Regions from separate parts of the Homo sapiens genome. Here region 2 is linked to region 1. The links are contacts of gene promoters, found by promoter capture Hi-C in human tissues and cell types (Jung and others, 2019). All regions are on one chromosome and are shown on one strand. Each heading gives the region's core, a stretch centred on a gene start or on the middle of the fragment in contact. The rest is flanking DNA. Distances are from core to core; before and after follow the strand shown.

Region 1 (4,381 bases), core at 928-3,427:
AGTTGTTAACTTAACCCATAATAGTATTCTTGTTTGTCACCTCTGCTAGCCTTTTCCTGCTTTGAGGGCCAGCCTGGTCATATTTGGCTTAGTTTCCCTGTGATTGACCATACCACTTGTGGTAGACACTAATCAACGATTGTAGAATCCTAAAGAACTGGGGAGAGGAGTTCGAGTTTGAGACATTCCCCGAAAAAGCCATATCTATCTAGTTTTCTAGCATGCGCTCTTGTCTTATTTAAAAACTCACATAGAATTATAAATATATTGATTATATGTTCTATACAAATATAGTTTATATACCATATGACATATATTGTACACTATTCTAATATTTTAATCCCTAACCCAAGAGATTAACTCAGTAGGAACCACTCACTGCTGGTTGAGACACAGCTTCATGCTACTGAAATATCCTTTGGCTAAAGCACAGAATTTAAAACTTCCCAAACAACCAACATTTGAATCAGCCAAAATGGATCAAAAGTTCAAATGAGCGGTTTTATGACATGACTATTTATGGGCTTTCTTGCTGTCTGGGAGGGTCACTTTAGCAGAGAATCCTAAAATACTACAGCCAAAGCAACCGTAGGATGACCTAATCGTGTCTTGCTTTTTTTTTCAGATGGGGAAACTGAGGCCCACAGCAACAATAATAACTGTGGGGATGATATCATTTAATATTGAAAATAAGTGGATAATTGAGACCTCCATTATTAGTAGTTAATTTTTAAAAATCAAAGATCTCTCCTAATTAGCTTTATGGAGCAAATAAATATATTTTCCATATTCAAATATGGCTGTGATTTCTACACAAATGGTGTTAACAATCTAATACAGCATAAAACATTGTTTAAATATCATCATACCCTATTCCTAAACAGTAACGTGTAATAGATCTCTGGAGCCCAGTGTTGTAATATAAACACTTCCCAGGTGTATTCCCTTGGTAAAGTTTCATTACTTCTCTAAACGTCAGTTTTCTTGTGTAAAAAAGAGACACTTGTGTCTATCCTACTTACTGGTTACAAGGATATAATAAAAATAGTGAACAAAAATAGTGTTCATAAAGTACCCTGCACAGCACCTGATTATAGACTTAATAAGGGAGGGCTCAATGGTAGTTGCGTTTTGAATTACATTTAATGCTTCATTTTACTTCACTGTCACAAACTACTATGCTCTGCGGCAGGCTCAGAAGTCTCTAGGCACGGGTGAAGTGCTACTTCTCCACTCCCTTAAATGCCCCTGTATGCCCTGAGGATACTCAATGCATGCTAACCACCAAACGAACGGATGACTCAGAGCTTGGAGGAAATCCACGGCAGGCTGGAAAGCAAAGGCGCAGCTTATGGCTCAAGGATTAGGTTGTTACCTTTTTAAATTATTGCTTTTCTTTAAAGAAAGGGCTGTGGGGGACGCCTTTCAGCACTAAGAGAAAACCTCAGAAATCCTTCCCCCTGGAGACCCAGCTGAGAAGACCACACCAGGCACAGGGCATGAACAATGTCAAAAAGCTACTGCCCTGCAGGACACTGGGGCTGGAACAAAGATGCCTCCCAGCAGCTGGGCAAGGCTGGCTCCCACACAAGAAAAGCAGGGCTGATGTGAGCGTCCCGCACGATCCCCACCTGCTGAGACCTAATCCTGGGTTATCTCTCCGCTGGCCCAGAGAAACCTGAAACCCCCCAGGCTTTTGAAGGGCTTTATCTCCTCTTTCCAGGAACTGGGCTCAGTCCCTGTACTCGCTCCGAGGTGCCACTGAGCAGCTGCTGCCCAGAGCCCAGGCGAGCCCTGGTCCCATTTCCAGCTTGACCAAGTACAAGAGGGGAGCCAGGGCTGCGGATCCTACTCCCTCTTGCTCCCCAGGCATCCGTCTCACAATTAGAAAACCCGTGTGGGGAGCAAAGCAAAAATCACATTTCACTAACAGCTACTCGGGGTCGGGGGCGGGCAGGCGGGAATTCCTACTTTCGCCATAAATTGTATGCAAATGGGTTCCTTCCCTGGCCGAGAGCCAGGAGTGAGTGCGTCTTTCATGAGCTAACCCTGTTCCGCTGGGAGGGCTGTTCCTTTAATTCGCCAACTGAAAAAGTGGGAAAGGATGTCTGGAGGCGAGGCGTCCCATTACAGAGGAAGGAGCTCGCTATATAAGCCAGCCAAAGTTGGCTGCACCGGCCACAGCCTGCCTACTGTCACCCGCCTCTCCCGCGCGCAGATACACGCCCCCGCCTCCGTGGGCACAAAGGCAGCGCTGCTGGGGAACTCGGGGGAACGCGCACGTGGGAACCGCCGCAGCTCCACACTCCAGGTACTTCTTCCAAGGACCTAGGTCTCTCGCCCATCGGAAAGGTAAGTCTGTTTTGCCCTCATCACTAGAGATCCTTATGATGTAAGGATTGCATTCCTGGTACCAAATGAGTTGTGATTTTATATTATAATTACAAAACATATGGGGTTTTTTTTTCCACCGCTGGAAAAAAAAGGAGTGTGTATTGGTTATATCAGATGCACCTTGACTTTTCTGGTCTTGTAATTTTGTTTGTTTTAACTTTATGAATAGTCAGACTTGGAAGGAACTTTTCGTAAAGTTGTTATCTTCTGCTGTTCTGCAGAGGAAAAGTAAAAATTTTCTCTTCAACTGCTCTCCTACTTCTAGTCTGGCTGATTCACCTGTATATATCTTTTATTTTGAGGGTTAGGGCAGTAGAGTTTTAAGGCAGACTTTGCTCATAGCCTGCCCCTGGGATGGGTTAGAGGGAGTTTGATAGAGGAGTGCAGGGAGAATATAAAAGTTTATATCTAAACAGCACTTACATAAAGTTTACAAAGAGTTTTGTACCCATTCCCTCATTTGGTCCTCAAAATATTCACCCTGGAAATGAGAGCTGGGGGACAGAAGAGAGGAGGTGGCTCCTGGGCCAGATGAATAACTGACAGGCAGCTAGAGAGTGGTGGAGAACAGCTTTACTGGGGTGCCTAGAGCCAGCAGCGTCCCACATGTCTCTAGAATCACCTCCTCCTCCTCACCTCTCATCACAGAAAGATCTGAGCAACAACATCCCCCAGGTATGGGAACCCTGCTGCCCCTGGTGTACTTTGGAAAGAACACAGGGGTTCTTCTCACCCATCAGTGTTGTAAGAGGAATAAGAGCTTAGGTTTGAAGCCAGAGGTGTTTGGTATTCTCCCCACCACCATACATATGACCCTGAGAAAGATACATCACTTCCTTAATCCTCAGTTTTCACATCTCTAAAATGGGGACAATAGCGTCTGCTGTCGTTTTGAGGAGAAAATGAGGTATAGAAAGATCAGCAATGACTGCTTAATAACTGGAAGTTTGGATAATCATTGTCATTGCCAAAAACTGCCATCACTCTGGAAGTTAAAAGAGGCATTGAGCCAGTCTTGGATTGTTTCTTGTGTGTTGTTCCTCAGCCCGCCCCCAGCCCCCGCTTTTTATCTCACCCAATCTGAGGGTGTCTCACTAGGCTGGCAGGTCTGAGACTTGGCTGTATTTTACAAGCAGGAGGTTGTGTTGGCACAGGTTGGAGAAAAGGTAGTAGCCCGGGGCTGGAAGTTAATGTCAAATTTTGATTCCAGAATGTCAGGAGGTTTTGAGTTTAGGCATCTGCAGATTCTAAAGCTGACAGCTATGAAGTACGATGCTGTTGGAAACTCTTTGGAAAAGCTTTCTGTCCGGAGGGAGGGCAGGACAGGGAGCACCACTTGAAGAATGAATGCCTCTTTTTCATGTTTTTGTAGACTTTTTCCCCCATTTTTACAGAGCTTTCCCATATGTGTTTTAGAAAGGAAAACTACTATCCATCCCAGCCAGGCAAGCCCAATTCAGGACTGAAGAAGATTTATTCAGTCCTAGACAACCAAGTGAAGAGTTTCTGGCTTTGTGCGCATACAAGTCATTTGCAGGAGATGTAAGTCAGCGTGCTTTGGCCCTTGCATTTCAGGAAGGTGACTGCTTTGTGGGGAAGAAAAAGGTGCACAATATGAGTATTCTCTGGTTTGCTCAAACAGGGTAAATTGGACAAGGATTGAAAGGGATGTTGCCAAGCTCTACAGTCATTAAATATTTTTTTCCTCTATGCTTTGTTTTAAAAACCTAGCTTCTCTATTTTATCCCACACTAACCTCCTCCTTCCCCACTCTAAGAAGTGACTAACGTTTCAGCCCTCAACTTTGTCATTCATATAATGGAGATGACAAACTATGTCTCACAGGGCTCTTGCAACATTCAAATGAGGTAATATATGGCAAACACTTGGCATAGTACCTTCCACATATTAAGGGTTCAATAAATGGAAACTTTTCTTAGTTTCTCTGTTTATCATTTTACAAGGACTTGTCCAAGATTAATATTCT
Region 2 (4,381 bases), core at 828-3,327, 66 kb after region 1:
ATACAGTCTGGGCCGCACTTACTTTAAAATTAGTTTTATTTGATAAATGAGCATTTAGGAGGCCAGCCCCATAAACATCTAGCCATATAGACCCCTTAACATTAAATGAGTTGCTCTCAAAACTGAATGTCTAGACTTTAACAGAAAAGAGATACTTAACCTCAGGGAAACCATCTATCTGTCCAAATTATCCAATAATTGAGTTTCCTAAGCAGAAAATTCAATGCCTAACTTCAAGTTTTTCTTTCACCTTTGCATTCACTGGGAATTTTGAATGGAAGCCATCTTCACCTTTACGGTATTAAATGGTAAAATATAGATTTTCCTACAATGCATATTAAGTACTGTAAAAATTTCTCTTGTATGGGTATTAGCCTTTAATTTGTGCAAACAGTAGATACTAAAAAAGAATACTAAATGAGGAAACTCCAAAGAAGCATTTTCTAAAACATGTTCAATGGAACACCAGCTCCTTGAGATGTTCAAAGGATATTCCTCAGATAGGGTATACATTGATCAATAAGTTTATGAAATTTGGGCCAAACAAAATTAAACAGGTTTACTGACAGAACCAGCCTGTCAGAGCCTTTAAAATGCAAACCCACCTTGTGAATCTCTATGGTAAGACATAATATTCGGTGTTTACCATGCATACTTAATCATAAAGCTGTCTTTTCTTGGAACATCTTACAGGGCTTGTGTCCCCAGTACAAACTTTAGAAAATGTAGCCTTAATACCCTTCACGTTACTCCAATCTACCACTCTAATGGCTTGTCTACTCTTCTTCATACATGACTAGCAAATGGTGGTGTTTATGCTTTAAAAGAACACAGATCTAAAAAATAAAATAAAAATAAAGAACACAAATATACACCTGCAGAGAAAGCAATATATTTTCTATCATCATATTCAATGCAGGTGTAGACACAGCCTAACATACTGTCTCTTCTGTATGTATTTGGAGATATTGATGCTTTCATGTTCTATGGCTACATTCTGGAAAAATCCACTGCTTCCTCTAATAATGTCTCTCTCTTTCTCTCTGCCCATATTCCTTCTTTAGAACCAAAGCCACAGTTGGGCACGCTAATCTTTAGCAATATTACTCCAAAAAGCTTCAACATGTCATGGACCACTCAAGCTGGGCTTTTTGCAAAGATTGTTATCAATGTGAGTGACGCTCACTCACTGCATGAGTCCCAGCAATTCACAGTCTCAGGAGATGCAAAGCAAGCTCACATCACAGGCTTGGTGGAGAACACTGGCTATGACGTCAGTGTGGCAGGAACCACCTTGGCTGGGGATCCCACCAGACCCCTCACTGCCTTTGTCATTACAGGTACTCAATCAGAGGTTCTCACTTGTCTAACACAGAGAGAAAAGGAGATAAGTCATCTTAAAGGAAAATTCAACAAAAATACAATCTTCACTGCAAATGTGTACTCTCTTATTTTTAATTGACAAATAGTAATTGTATATATTTATGGAGAATAGTGTGTTGTTTTGATATACATATACATTGTGGATTGATTGAATCAACCTAATTAACATATCAATCACCTCACCTTATTTATTTATTTATTTATTTATTTATTTATTTATTGTGCTGTGAGAACATTTAAAATCTACTCTTTTAGGAATTTTGAAGTATTCAATATGTTATTATTAACTATGGCCAGTCACCATGCTGTGCAGTAGATCACTAAAACTTATTCCTTCTGTCTAACTGAACTTTGTACTCCTTGACCAACATCTCCCCTTTCTTCATCTCCCCAACCCCAGTCACCGGTAACCACCAGTCTTCTCTGTGCTTCTATGTGTTCAGCTTTCTTAGATTACACAAATGAGATCACGCAGTATTTGTCTTTCTGTGCCTCGATTATTTCACTCTGTACAATGTCTTCTGGGTTCATCCGTGTTGTTGAAAATGACAGAATTTTCCTCTTTTTTAAGGCTATAAAGTATTCCATTATATATATATGTGTATATATATATATATGTATATATACACACATATGGAATGTATATATTTATATATAAATATGATCTATCTATACACCACATTTTCTTTATCCATTCATCCATTGACAGACACAGGTTACAATACATTACTCATGATAGCCAAGATAATATATGTAAACTTCTAAGTAAAGAGAAAGCAGATACTATTATAAAGGAGAGGACTTTCACAGCTGCTCTTAGGAAGTGGAGAGAACGTTCTCAAGAGTTGTATAAAGCTTTTAGGGTTTTTTGTGCCCAGTTTTATTGGCTGTTTTATCCCTAGTTTAGAGATTCTGCCTAAAAAGTGACTCCTAAGTTAGTAAAGGCCTAAGATCGAAATCCTGTTCATAAATCATGCTAGGTAACGCAGTTCATATATGTGACAAAAGTATAACCATCTTTTTCTTTAAAAAATAATTATTCTTAAAACTGACAACACAGATGCAGCTAGATGCAGCTAATTTGAAATTCCTGTCTCCTTTTTTTCTTTTGATTAAAAAAAAAATGCATTTACCAGTACTGTCAGAAAAAAAAAAAAAAGAAAAAAAAGAAAAAAGAAAAATCACCTAGAAAAGAGACGCTGAACCTTCTCCACTAATCCTCCTTATCCCTCAGGATTGCCATCACTGATTGGGGTTGGCTTTGGGTATGGAAAGAACGTAGAACTTGGAGTCGGAAGACCTGGTTGTATATCTCAGCTTAGGCACCTAGCAGATGTATGACCTAGGATAAGTCATTAACTTCTCTGGTTTTTTTAGATGTGATCGGGGTTGGAAGATTGATGAAGGTTCAACCTCAGATGGCAGATAAATTTCAAGTTTAATTAAGCCCTACCCATTCACTCAACTTGACTTCTTGAACATTTGCCAATGTTCAATTTGGCAAATGCTGCCAAATGGTGGCAGCAAAAACTTCAATGGCAAAGGCTGCACATGGTGTCAGTTTACTAAATTCTAGCCCAAAAAGCCTCAGAAAATATTTAGAAGTCTCTTCCTTTTCATTAGTGATAATTTTCAGAAGACGGACTTTGCCATCTGATTTTCACATTAAACCAGGTCTCTCCCAGGGTCTAAATTGCCATCACTAAGACATGTCAATTAGTACAATTAAATATTTAATTATAGGCAGCATGGTGTCCTGGAAGAGTGAGGATTTTGAGATCAAGCTTTTGTGGTTTCTAAACCTCTCCCACAGCTTTTTAGCTACATAATTTTAGCAAGTTCTTAACTTGTTTGAACCCTAATTTCCTTATGCATGGAGAGAGGATACCACAGGCACTTCTGGGAGCCTTGTCTCATAGATTAAATAGAGTTGGTGAAATTTAACTGCCTAGCATCCAGTAGGAATTTTATACATGCTAGGTTCTTTCTGCTGTCTCCCAACATTATTAGGAAAGTGGCTTTCTTAAAAATAACCAATAAGGCTAGATAGAACAATAGACCTATGCAATCATGAACTCCCTCTCGTTTTTAAGAGAACTTTGGATGTGTTTTAATGTAAGATTAAAAAATGAGTATTTTTTCCTATCCAGTTACCTAATGTGAATTAAATCATTCAGATGAGTCTTCAAATGCAGAACATGGTAATTTCTTAAGGGACTGAGACAAGGAGGAACGAGATGAGATTCTCACTCCTCAGGAGGGGAGAAATGGCCACAGATCCCATCAGGCCATTGCTTGTAGCGGCTTGCAGGACCTCCCACATAACAGAAGAAAAGGAAGCTGAGAGACCCAGTCTTGGGAATCCTAGATCCAGTTACAGCATTGTCTCAGCTAATCCATGATGTGAAAAGATTGCGTTTTAAAAGAAGCATATTAAAAAAGAAAAAAACAAAACAGGAGGGACTCTTAAATAACAAGCCCTTGATTGCCTAATTAGCCTGAATGCCCTCACTTTCATTGGAATTCACTGCTTTGATGGTGTGGAGGTGCAAAGAGGCCAGCTATCAAAGAGAGATGCCACTTATCTAAACAAAATCCAGGAACAGAATTCGAGACCCTTGTCTCTCAGATGAAGATTGTTTGCCCAGTATAAGAGATTTCATCCTCGCTTTTGATAGAATTATGATTCTTGGGAAATCTTTACGTGGAAAAAACTGCCTCAGAATAAACACCAAGTGTTTCAAAATAACTACAGGAAGTCCAAGCCACAGCAAAATTTAAATCTCTATTTACAAAATGAAGGTATTCATTCCCTTATTCATTCAGTCACCAAACACTTCTTTTTAAAACATTTTTCTTTATGTCTCATGGATTAGACCCTAGGCATTAGTGAATTAATGCAAGAGCATTTATCTCTTTGTAAGTTTCCATTTAGCTGTAATGGAAAAGAAGTGTCTAAACTAGATGCAGCTAATTTGAAATTCCTGTCTCCTTTTTT

The links. Contacts are between HindIII fragments. The study calls those that stand out against the background at their distance.
Region 2: a fragment that was not itself captured here is called in contact with the fragment with the promoter of TNC in region 1 in 2 of the 25 tissues and cell types used here (liver and thymus).

Annotation. Positions count from the first base shown.
Region 1 is chr9:115,115,953-115,120,333 of GRCh38, reverse strand. It overlaps TNC (tenascin C), which reads left to right and starts at 2,177. Exons shown (of 28, transcript NM_002160.4): 1 at 2,177-2,352. All of the region lies in intron 2 of LOC124902255 (a long non-coding RNA gene), which reads right to left. LOC101928748 (a long non-coding RNA gene) reads left to right here. Exons shown (of 6, transcript NR_110950.1): 6 at 626-795. RefSeq lists an enhancer at 1,079-1,898. The HindIII fragment of the contact is 7,931 bases long and covers 1-4,381 here.
Region 2 is chr9:115,049,699-115,054,079 of GRCh38, reverse strand. All of the region lies in intron 15 of TNC (tenascin C), which reads left to right. Among named protein-coding and RNA genes, the nearest start is that of TNC, 66 kb to the left of the region's middle. The HindIII fragment of the contact is 4,288 bases long and covers 1-4,221 here.